Linked DNA regions of Homo sapiens: region 1 is linked to region 2. Evidence: promoter capture Hi-C in 16 types of primary human blood cells and fetal thymus (Javierre and others, 2016). All regions are on one chromosome and are shown on one strand. Each heading gives the region's core, a stretch centred on a gene start or on the middle of the fragment in contact. The rest is flanking DNA. Distances are from core to core; before and after follow the strand shown.

What was found. Contacts are between HindIII fragments. The CHiCAGO score rates a contact against its expected background, and 5 or more counts as called.
Region 1: a fragment that was not itself captured here is called in contact with the fragment with the promoter of RNF125 in region 2 in 1 of 17 cell types (fetal thymus); the score reaches 6.2 in fetal thymus.

Annotation. Positions count from the first base shown.
Region 1 is chr18:31,556,663-31,562,056 of GRCh38, reverse strand. It overlaps DSG2-AS1 (DSG2 antisense RNA 1), which reads left to right and starts at 5,146. Exons shown (of 6, transcript NR_045216.1): 1 at 5,146-5,394. The HindIII fragment of the contact is 963 bases long and covers 1,813-2,775 here.
Region 2 is chr18:32,015,635-32,021,500 of GRCh38, reverse strand. It overlaps RNF125 (ring finger protein 125), which reads right to left and starts at 2,676. Exons shown (of 6, transcript NM_017831.4): 1 at 2,474-2,676. The coding sequence starts at 2,637. RefSeq lists enhancers at 1,915-1,964, 1,609-2,481, 2,781-3,075, 2,482-3,354 and a silencer at 2,781-3,075. The HindIII fragment of the contact is 17,285 bases long and covers 1-5,866 here.

The DNA.
Region 1 (5,394 bases), core at 1,045-3,544, 460 kb after region 2:
TTAATCCACATGTAGCACTGCACAGAGCTGATTTTTTTCTTTTTTTTTTTTTTTTTTGAGATGGAGTCTCGCTCTGTTACCTAGGCTGGAGAGGAGTGGCGTGATCTCGGCTCACTGCAAGCTCCGCCTCCCGAGTTCAAGCAATTCTTCTGCCTCAGCCACCTCAGTAGCTGGGATTACAGGCATCCGCCACCACACATGGCTAACTTTTTGTATTTTTAGTAGAGATGGGGTTTCACCGTGTTGGCTAGGCTAATCTTGAACTCCTGACCTCAGGTAATCCTCCCATCTTGGCCTCCCAAAGTGCTGGGATTACAGGTGTGAGCCACCACACCCGGCCCACAGCTCATTTTGAAGGAACTCTACCAATAACCTGCTGTTTACAATTTTTACATGATAAACAACATAGTAGCAAACATCCTTATATACATATCTTTTCATAATTTTAAGACTCTCTTGAGGTAAGATCCTAGAAGCTGGGCTGAAGAATTTGGTTCTCTTTCCATGGGTCGGGTCATTGGAATGTTCAGAGGATGCACCCGGTAGCAGATGCTCTTCCTCCCTAGTTATCAGGGCTATGTCAGGAGGAGGGGGAAAGAGACATGAGGATTTTGTTTGCCTCTATGTTCCTTTTACTTCCTTGATAGTTTGTCTTGGTTTATCCTATTTCTTTTTCTAACCCCCTGGCTTCTACTTTTGGCCAAATATTACTGGAGTATGTATGAGAGTAGAGGGAGACGCAGACGGGTCGGGGATGCAGGGAGTGGAAATATTGAGGGAATATTCCTTTTAATCATTATCTTTATTTTTATTTCATTCCAGCTTCTCAATGTGGATCAGGTGGGTGGATTTTTCTAATTTTTAAGACTATAAATCTTAAACGAATTTCTCTAATTTTTAAGACTCTAAGTCCTGTACTAGCAAGAACATGGATTTTTCTACCCTTCCTTAGAGTGCTCCAGATTATGTGGGAATTTTATTTCTCTTTGTTTGCAAGAGAAACTCCTAAAGAGCTCATTCCTTAGAAAAGCATGAATTTCCGCATGTCTCTTTAACCATCAATTTAGCTGCTCTCAAAGAAATCTGAAGAATGCTTTGCTTGTGTGTCTTTTTCCTTCTGTGTCCACTTTTAACTAAATGTCTCTTTCCAGTGTCTCCATTTCTAATTAATAAGAAGGGAGTTAGCTGGACTGATTATTCTTTGTCATCCCATTGTGGCCAGATCTTTGAACAGTCTATCTCTTGGGCTTCTAGACAACCTGCAGATGGCCACTTTTAGGTTCAGTACCTCTCTCATCCAGTCAGCTGTTGGTTGAGTGTGTGGTAGGGTGTGTATCATATGGAATGGAAAGATCCTCGGATGCTCTAGAATTCCGAGTGAGGTGAAGGGCATTCAGCGGACCTTGGGTGCTCTTACTCAGGGATTTCTTTTAAATTGGCAAGCTAGTCCAGGGGCAGTGCCAGCACTTTGGGAGGCCGAGTTGGGAGGATCACTTGAGCCCAGGAGTTCAAAACCAGCCTTGGCCACATAGCAAATCCCCATCTCTACAAAAAATATATAAAAAAAATAGCTTGATGTGGTGCGTGCCTGTGGTCCCATCTACTCTGGAGGCAGAGGCAGAAGGATCACTTGAGTCTGGGAGATTGAGGCTGCAGTGAGCTATGATTGTGCCACTGCACTCCAGCCTGGGCAACAGAGTGAGACCTTGTCTCAAGAAAATAAATAAATAAATAAATAATAAATTGGCAAACTAGGAGAGAAAAAGCATGGTAAGTATAGCCTGGCATTTTTGTTAAAAAAAAAAAAAAGCTTCTAAAAAATGTCTACACATACATTTACCCCATGACCCAGCAATTTAGGTATTTGCCCCAGAGCAATGAAAACATATGGCCACCAAGGCTTGAACATGAATGTTTATAGTAGCTTCATTTTTGATAACACAAAACTGAAGACAGTCTGGGTGTCCATCAATATGAGAATGGAAAAACAATTTTGACATAATTATACAATAGAACGCTACTGCATTCCATTGCAAAATAGTTTCTTTTCTACAAAAAGAAATGTGTTACTGGTACACACAACCTAGATGAATCTCAAAAAATTATGCTGAGTGATAGAAGTCTATTCCAGAGTCCACACTATATGACTCCATTTATATAAAGTTCTAGGAGAGGCAAAACTAAAAAAAATTTAAATAAAAAAGTCATTGCCTCTCAGAGATAGAGATGAGGCCTGAGCAGGAAGAGGTATTGGTATTTTCTGGGGTCATGGTCATTTTCACATCTTGAAAGGGGTTTGGTTACACGGGTGTATGCATTCTTCAAAACTTAGCAAATGTACACTTAAAATTGGTGCATTTCATGCTATGTGATTTTGCCTCAGAAGAAAAAAAATGTAAATAAATCTTGAACTGTAATTCAACTCTGATGTGTTCAGCGTATGGATGTATTTAAGTATACTTATGGCTATAATTTAATTTGAAATTCACCAAGAGAAATAAGATGGATTGATCAATGGATACAGACATGGATAGATATGTAATAAACTAAGAACAGTAAAATATTAATAGTGAAATCTTGGTGGTAGAAATTCAAGTGTTCACTGAAAATTCTTTCAGTTTGCTATGTGTGTGAAAAGTTTTCCAATAGAATGTTGGGGAAAATGTCTATTGAAATATGATATACCATTCAATTAACAACAAATAGTCATGCACGTGTCATATATAAAGCATTGTGATATGTACTAAAGATGCAAGAATGAAGAAAGACAAAGCTTTTGGCTCGGAGCTTTCACAGTTTCATAAAGGAGACCAAAGTACCAAATTGTTAGGGGAACAAACATGTCAACAATTTTCTGGAATCGTCTAATTTCAAGTACTTTACTTTTATTTGTTTTATGTGTAAAAGAAATGCATTTTATTATTATTTATGTTTCTGTTTCTATTTTTATATATTTCAGGGGTACAAGTGCAGGATTTTTAAATTTTCATTTTTTTAAAGCATAGTCTTTGTCATCTGGGCTGGAGTACAGTGGCACAGTCATGGCACACTGCAGCCTTGAATTCCTGGGCTCTAGTGATCTTCCCATGTCAGCCGCCCAAGCAGCTGAGACCGCAGGTGTACACCACCATGGCCACCTAATTTCTTAAAATTTTTGTAAAGACGAGGTCTCACTATGTTGCCCAGGCTGGTCTAGAACTCCTGGGCTCAAGCAATCCTGCTGCCTTGGCCTCCCAAAGTGATGGGATTACAGGCATGAACCACCAAGCCCGGCTGCAGATTGTTTACATGCTCGGATTGCATAACAGTTACATCTAGGCTTTTTAGTGTACCCATCACCGGAACAGTGAACGTTGTACCCAAGAGGTAATTTTTCAATCCTTACTTTCTCCTCCCTTCTCACCTTTTGGAGTCCCCAGTGTCTATTATTCCACTCTGTATGCCCACGTGTACCCACTGTTTAGCTTCCACTTATAAGTGAGAACATACGGTTTTTTTTTTTTTTTTTTTTTTGAGACAGAGTTTCACTCTTGTTGCCCAGGCTGGAGTGCAATGGTGAGATCTCGGCTCACCGCAACCTCCGCCTCCCAGGTTCAAGCGATTCTCCTGCCTCAGCCTCCCGAGTAGCTGGGATTACAGGCATGCACCACCACACCCGGCTAATTTTATATTTTTAGTAGAGATGGGGCTTCTCCATGTTGGTAAGGCTGGTCTCAAATGACTTTCTGTTTTTGAGTTATTTCACTTAGGTTAATGGCCTCCAATTCCATCCATGTTGCTGCAGAAGACATGATTTCATTCTTTTTTATGGCTGAGTATTATCCCGTGGTATATATGTACCACAGTTTTTTAATCCAGTTGATGGATTAAATTGGACACTTAAGTTGATGGACACTTAGGTTGATTCCATATTCAAGTACTTTATTTTTAAACGTAAGGAATTCTTTAAGTAAATGACTCCATGTTATTTTGATTGACTAATTTTGTAAGTGTTTTTATGTAAACAAACTCACAAGTTAGGAAAAAAATCTTTCATCAAATGCTGTCTTCTAATTTTGTTTAGGGAAATGTTTTTCTCATAACCATACCTTGCCTGTCTGTTGCCTCTGTGACCTATTGACATAATATTTAAAATTTACTTTACAGCAAGAAAAGGGCACTGAAAATGCACGGAAAAGTCAATGAAAGTCAGAAGAAAAAAAGGTTAATATTTAAGGTTGACTTTGGTTGGAGTTAACTTCAACTTTCCCCCACCCTCTTCCTGCAGAATCTCCTCCTTCCAGCTGAGGATTCTTTCTAAAACCTGGTTATAAGGTGTCTTGCTCACAATTGTCTGTGGCTCTTTACTGCATAAAGAGTCTGGTCCCACAGCCTTAGCTGCTGTTCCAAGTCCTCCACAGGGTGGCCTGTACCTGCCTCTTCACCCACACCTTCTGCTGTGCTCACCGCCTCTAATCCCTTACCCGCTAGCCACCCTCACCTGTGTGAGGTAAGCTTCTGATCTAGGTGGTCCTTCCTCCTGTTTACTTACTCTCTGGATTAGTTCATTTTTGCATTACTATAAAGAAATACCTGAGGCTGGTTATTTATTTATTTATTTATTGAGACGGAGTCTCACTCTGTCGCCCAGGCTGGAGTGCAGTGGCGCGCTTGGCTCACTGCAACCGCTGCCTCCCAGGTTCAAGCGATTCTCCTGCCTCAGCCTCCTGAGTAGCTGGGATTACAGACGCCCGCCACCACGCCCGGCTAATTTTTGTATTTTTAGTAGAGACGGGTTTCGCCATGTTGGTCAGGCTGGTCTTGAACTCCTGACCTCAGGTGATCTGACTGCCTCAGCCTCCCAAAGTGCTGGCATTACAGGTGTGAGCCACTACACCTGGCCTGAGGCTGGTAGTTTATAAAGAAAAGAGGTTTAACTGGCTCACGGTTCTGCAGGTGAACCAGAGGTGTGGTGCTGGCATCTGCTTCTGGTGAGGGCCTCAGGAAGCTTCCAATTATTGGCGGAAGGCGAAGTGGGTGTATCACATGGTGAGACCAGGATCAAGAGAGAGGGGAGAGAGGGGCTACGCTTTTAAAAAACAACCAGATCTCGCGTGAACGACCTGAGCGAGAACTGGCTCATCACCAAGGGGATGGCACGAATCCGTTCCTGCGGGATCGGTTCCCATCATCCAATACCTCCCACCAGACTCCACTTCCATCATTGGAGGTCACATTTCAACTAAGATTTGGAGGGGACCGTATCCTAACTATATTAACTTCCAATTTTCATCGAAAGCCCACCTGTCTAAGAAGAGCTCCTAGACATTCCCTTTCCCCTTCAACTTGGAGGAATTGGGAATGACAAAGAGAAATTAATCAAAAGAAGAATTAATCTCTCCAATCAGCCTTGGC
Region 2 (5,866 bases), core at 1,427-3,926:
TTATGTTAATAAGCTACATCTGGACAGCTGAGCAACAACATCAGTAATAGAAAGGAGGGTAAATTTAAGCCTCGAGTTTTAAGAACAAAGCTGAAACAACAGGCCTTGAAAATACAGCTACGGCCGGGCTCCATGGCTCACGCCTGTAATCCCAGCACTTTGGGAGGCCGAGGCGGGCAGATCACGAGGTCAGGAGATCAAGACCATCCTGGCTAACACGGTGAAACCCCGTCTCTACTAAATATACAAAAAAATTAGCCGGGCGTGGTGGCGGCACCTGTAGTCCCAGCTACTCGGGAGGCTGAGGCAGGAGAATGGCGTGAACCCGGGAGGCGGAGCTTGCAGTGAGCCAAGATCGTGCCACTGCACTCCAGCCTGGGCAACACAGCAAGACTCCATCTCAAAAGAAAAGAAAACACAGCTACGAAATAATGCCCAAAGCACTCTTTATTTATACATTGTGCAGGCTGCACACTTTTGTCCCTGGCTCACAGACGGGCAGTAGTGAAAACTGCTTTTCAGATACAAGGCTATAGGTATTAAGGATTACCTAAGTCCTTTCAAAACTTTCTTTTTTTTCTTTCTTTTTTTTGAGACTGAGTTTTGCTCTGTTGCCCGGGCTAGAGTGCAATGATGCCATCTCAGCTCACTGCAACCTCTGCCTCCCAGGTTCAAGCAGTTCTCCTGCCTCAGCCTCCCAGGTAGCTGGGATTACAGGCACGGGTCACCACACCTGGCTAATTTTTGTATTTTTAGTAGAGACGAGGTTTCACCATGTCGGCCAGGCTGGTCTCGAACTCCTGACCTCAGGTGATCCATCCACCTCGGCTTCCCAAAGTGCTAGGATTACAGGTGTGAGCCACCACGCCGGGCGTCAAAACTTTTGACTGCAAGTGCACAACATGTTTTTAAGGACTACCTAAATCCTTTCAAAAGTGGTCCTCAAAAACATGTTGTGCACTTGCATTCATAATAACGGTATTTCTTTCTTCCTGCTAAGCCAAATGCTGGTACAAGCCACTGTGGTATCACACATGGCTTCATCATACTATAGTCACCCTTCAAAGGACATTAAGTAGGCTTCCGCTCCTGATCTGTGCAGACACAACACACACACACGTATCCACGAAAAAAAATCAAAGCAAAGAGAGAAGGCTGGGTGCAGTGGCTCACACCTTTAATCCCAGCACTTTGGGAGGCCGAGGTGGGTGGATCAATTGAGGTCAGGAGTTCAAGACCAGCCTGGCCAACATGGTGAAACCCCATCTCTACTCAAAATTCAAAAACTAGCCGGGTGTGGGGGTGGGCGCCTGTAATCCCAGCAACTCGGGAGGCTGAGGCAGGAGACTCACTTGAGCCTGGGAGGCGGAGGTTGCAGTGGGCGGAGGTTGCAGTGAGCCGAGATAGCACCACCGCACTCCAGCCTGGGCGACAGAGCCAGACTACGTCTCTCTCTCTCTCTCTCAAACACACACACACACACACACACACACACACAGTAAACAGAGAGCACAAATTCACAGCTCCAACTCCACCAGTTATTCAAACACACATTAAGGATGTGCCAATTTTATATAGGGACTTTGTTTTTAAATTCTTCTTAGAAACGACCACGGCTTTGCACCAACTGTGAGTTTTAGCTAAGTACTATGCGGTTTTGAGAAAGTTATTTTACTCTGTAATTTCCGCCGGTTTGGAGAGACCGTGCGTAAAGCAGGTAGCCTGCCACCTCCTGTTACGTTGTGGCTGGGTTTTGAAGGAGTACATTCAGGGGCTTGGCGGCTAACGTCCAAGCCCCACCCTAGCAGGTTGTTAAACTCTAACAACTGTGGAAAGTCACTCGGAAGCTCCAGTTTGACTTGCCCTTTGAGGGGCTGGGTGTCTGTGTTGGGAAAGGGTAGCAGGGGTGGGGGTGGAAAGACACTTTGCACAGATCCTTGTTTGCTTAAGACGAGCCTCTGTGGGCATTCTGGGAACACGTGCACAGCTCCAGCAAAACAAAACGGACCCGGGTTTCTGGGGCAGAGGGAAGCGCAGCCCGTTCTACCGTGTTCAGCGGGGTAACTGCGCTTTGCGGGAGCCCCTGCCTTGTAGCTGGAGCTCGTTTCCTTTCCGTGCCTGGGCGAGCGCTGGTTCTCCAGCCAAGAGCACCCTCCCCAGTTGGCGAGCCCTGGCTCTGGGCGGGACCCGTGCCTGGATCCCCTTCTCTGGAGTTCCGCACCTGGGCTTCGGGAGCTGAAAGCGCAAGGGGGCTACAGGACCCGCTTGTTTATTTTTTCTCCTCCCGAAATCCTGTGTCACCTTCCGACCCGCGTTTTCCCCGTGGTCCTGCATCCGACGGGTCCAGGTTTCTCCCTGCAGCAATTTCCTAAGAGGCTGTCTTCCGTCCCCCTCCTTCCCCACACCATGCCCTCAGCTTCCCCACATCGCCCTCCTTAGGGGTGGGCGCAAACCGAGCTCCCCTGGAACTTACACGTGGCCACAGCGGGTCCGGACAGGCTGGTGTAACACCTCAAGGCACACGGCGCAGTCGAAGGACGTGACGGGCAACTCCGGGTCCCTCCTGCGCTCCAGGGCCCGCGCGGTGGCAGAGGCGGGCGCCGATTTGCCGCTGTCGGTGCTCAGCACGGAGCCCATCGCTGTGCCTCTCGCCCAGACAGCTGCGAAGCACTCAGTGCCTGCCGCAGGGTTGTTTTGTTGCCGTGCGGTGGAGGAAGGAAGTCCCGGCCCAGCTGCGATCGCCGCCTCCCAGCTCTCCCAGCTCGCGCAGCCCAGAAGCCACCTCCGCCGCTGCGCCCAACCCTGGTCTAGGGCAGGGCGAGCGCGCGGCCGCGGGGCTGAGATCTTCGGCAAGCCGCCTAGGTTAAGGCGCGGAGGCGGAGGCGGCAGCCGCCCCGTGCTCTGTCTTGTGGTATTGGGAGGATTGAAACCTGAAACCTCAACTGCAGAGAAGAGGACTTGAGGCAGCAGTAAACCTTCCAAGCTATCACACACAGCTGCTTTCCCCACTGTCAGAAGTTAAGTGCGGGCGTGGCCATGCTTAATGATAATCAGAGAACAGCCGCTTTTAAGGTGAAGTGGAAGACCATCCTCCACTGTTGTCATCACAATAAGCTGCAAAAATGACCTATGACCTATGATTGGGCGTCTCCTAAGACGGTGCTATCGCTACTCTGTCATCCAATCAATAGTCCATTAATGGAGAGATAGCCTGGGTAGTGGAAAGAGTCCTGGAGATTAGGATTCCAATCTTACCTCTCCTACAGAGATTCTAGTGCTAAACCCTGCCATCTCCAGTTTCCTCTGCGGCTCAGGATTTCCTCTGTTGTTTGTACGCTCCCCACCCCGCCCTTTAAACATGATCAGCCAGGCGCGGTGGCCCACGCCTGTAATTCCAACACTTTGGGAGGCCGAGGCGGGCTTGAAACTCCTGCTTGAGGGCAGGAGTTCGAGACCAGCCTGGCCAACATGGTGAAACCCCGTCGCTGCTAATAATACAAAAATTAGCCGGGCGTTAATTTACACTTTTTACGAAGACTTATTTAGTGCCCACTGCACGCCAGACTCGGTTCTAGTGATGAAGACACAATCGTCAACAAGCAAACAAAATCCCAGTTCTCACAGAACTTACTTTAAAAAACAAAAACAAAACTTTGAGATAATTATAGATTCACATACAGTTGTAAGAATAGTACATAGTATATAATACACATATACAATAATATATAATATAACACATGGGATATAATAACGCATATAATACATGTACGTATTTAGCAGGCCATAAACTTCACCCAGGCTTTACTTTTAATTAGGAGATATAGGCCGGGTACCGTGGCTCACGCCTGTAATTTCAGCACTTTGGGAGGCTGAGGTGGGAGGATCACTTGAGCACGGGAGCCAAGATCACACTACTGCACTCCGTCCTGTGCGACAGAGTGAGACCATGTCTCAAAAAACAAACCAAGCCGGGGCAGTGGCTCACGCCTGTAATCCCAGCACTTTGGGAGGCAAGAAGGACAGATCACCTGAGGTCAGGAGTTTGAGACCAGCCTGGCCAACATGGTGAAACCCTGTCTCTACTAAAAATACAAAACTTAGCTGGGTGTGAGCTACTTGGGAGGCTGAGGCACAAGAATCGCTTGAACCGGAAAGGTGGAGGCTGCAGTGAGCCGAGATCATGCCACTGCACTCCAGCCTGGGCAACAGAGGGAGACCCTGTCTCAAAAAACCAAAACAGGCTGGGTGCAGTGGCTCACGCCTGAAATCCCAGCAATTTGGGAGGCCGAGGCAGGTGGATCACAAGGTCAGGAGTTCAAGACCAGCCTGGCCAACATAGTGAAACCCCGTCTCTACTAGAAATACATTTCTTTAGTAAAAATTTTTGTACTAAAAATACAAAAATTAGCCAGGTGTGGTGGCACATGCGTGTAGTCCCAGCTACTTGGGAGGCTGAGGCAGGAGAACCACTTGCACCCAAGAGGTGGAGGTTGCAGTGAGCCGAGACCATGCCACTACACTCCATCGTGGGTAACAGAGCGAGACTCTGTCTCAAAAACAAACAACAAACAAAAGGAAGATACATGTAATCAATCCATAAACAAATGAACAAAATCATTTCAGATAATCAGAGCCATGAAGAAGATAAAACAGTAAATGGCAATGAGGAGAAGAATAAGCTCAGAGAAGAATTTTTGGATGAAGTGACATTTGAGCAGAGCCATGAATAATGAAAAGAAGTGAGCCATTCAAAGATTTAGGAAAAAGCGTGGACTGGGAACAGTGAATGAGGCAGAACCAAAGAAAGGAAAGACCTATGGAGCTGGAGCATGGGTGGTGGGGGGCAGGCGGTGGGGGGGGGGAAATAAGATGAAAAGGTAGTTATTCCCATCTTCAAAAGGAAAACAAAAACCTCCCTTTCATCCCACTTATGCCTCAACTCCTGCCCCATATCCGCTTCAAGGCCAAATCTCTTGATCTGATCCTCTACATTTTGTCATCATTTCTTAATTATTCACTTCTTATTCAGTCCAGTCTGGGTTCTGAACCAACCTCTCCACCTCCATCTGTCCAAAAACTGCTTTATTATCAGTGTCACTGGTGACGTTCATGTAACTAATTCCAATAGATTCTTTTCAGCTATTTTTTTTGCTTGACCCCTCAACTATGTTTGTTAGTGCTGACCATCCCCTCCTTCTGGAAACACTCTGACTTTCCCTCTTTCTTTCTGGCTATTGTTTCTTCTCCCTTGCCAGAGTCTCCTTCTCCACTGGCTCTGGGCTGGAGATCCTAGGATTCTGTCTTAGGACCTTTTCCCTTCTCCTCTCTCTCTCTTTCTCTCTTTCTCTTTCTCTCAAAAATCACACAGGTTCTGTCACTATTTCGGTTCCAAAAACTTTCACATCTTTATCTCTACCCCAGGCCATTCAAATGTCCAATAGCCTAATAGCTTACATGACTGACCATTTGACATAAACACCCTCAGCCCAATGTCTCCAATAATGAACTCATTATAGTAGCAGCCTCCTCCAGTGGTTGATCTCTCTTTTAGCAAATGGCACTATGATCCACTTTATAGCTCAGTCTAGACACCTGGAAGTCATCCTTGATTTCTTCCTCTTCCTCATTCACATTGAATCAAGCATAATCACAATCCTGCCTCCAATATGTATCTCAGTAGTTCTTTTTTTTCTGAGATGAAGTCTCTCTCTGTCGCCCAGGCTGGAAGTGTGCAGTGGCGCAATCTCAGCTCACTGCAACCTCTGCCTCCTGGGTTCAAGTGATTCTCCTGCCTCAGCCTCCTGAGTAGCTGGGATTGCAGGCGCATGCCACCACACCCGGCTAATTTTATTATATTTTTGGTAGA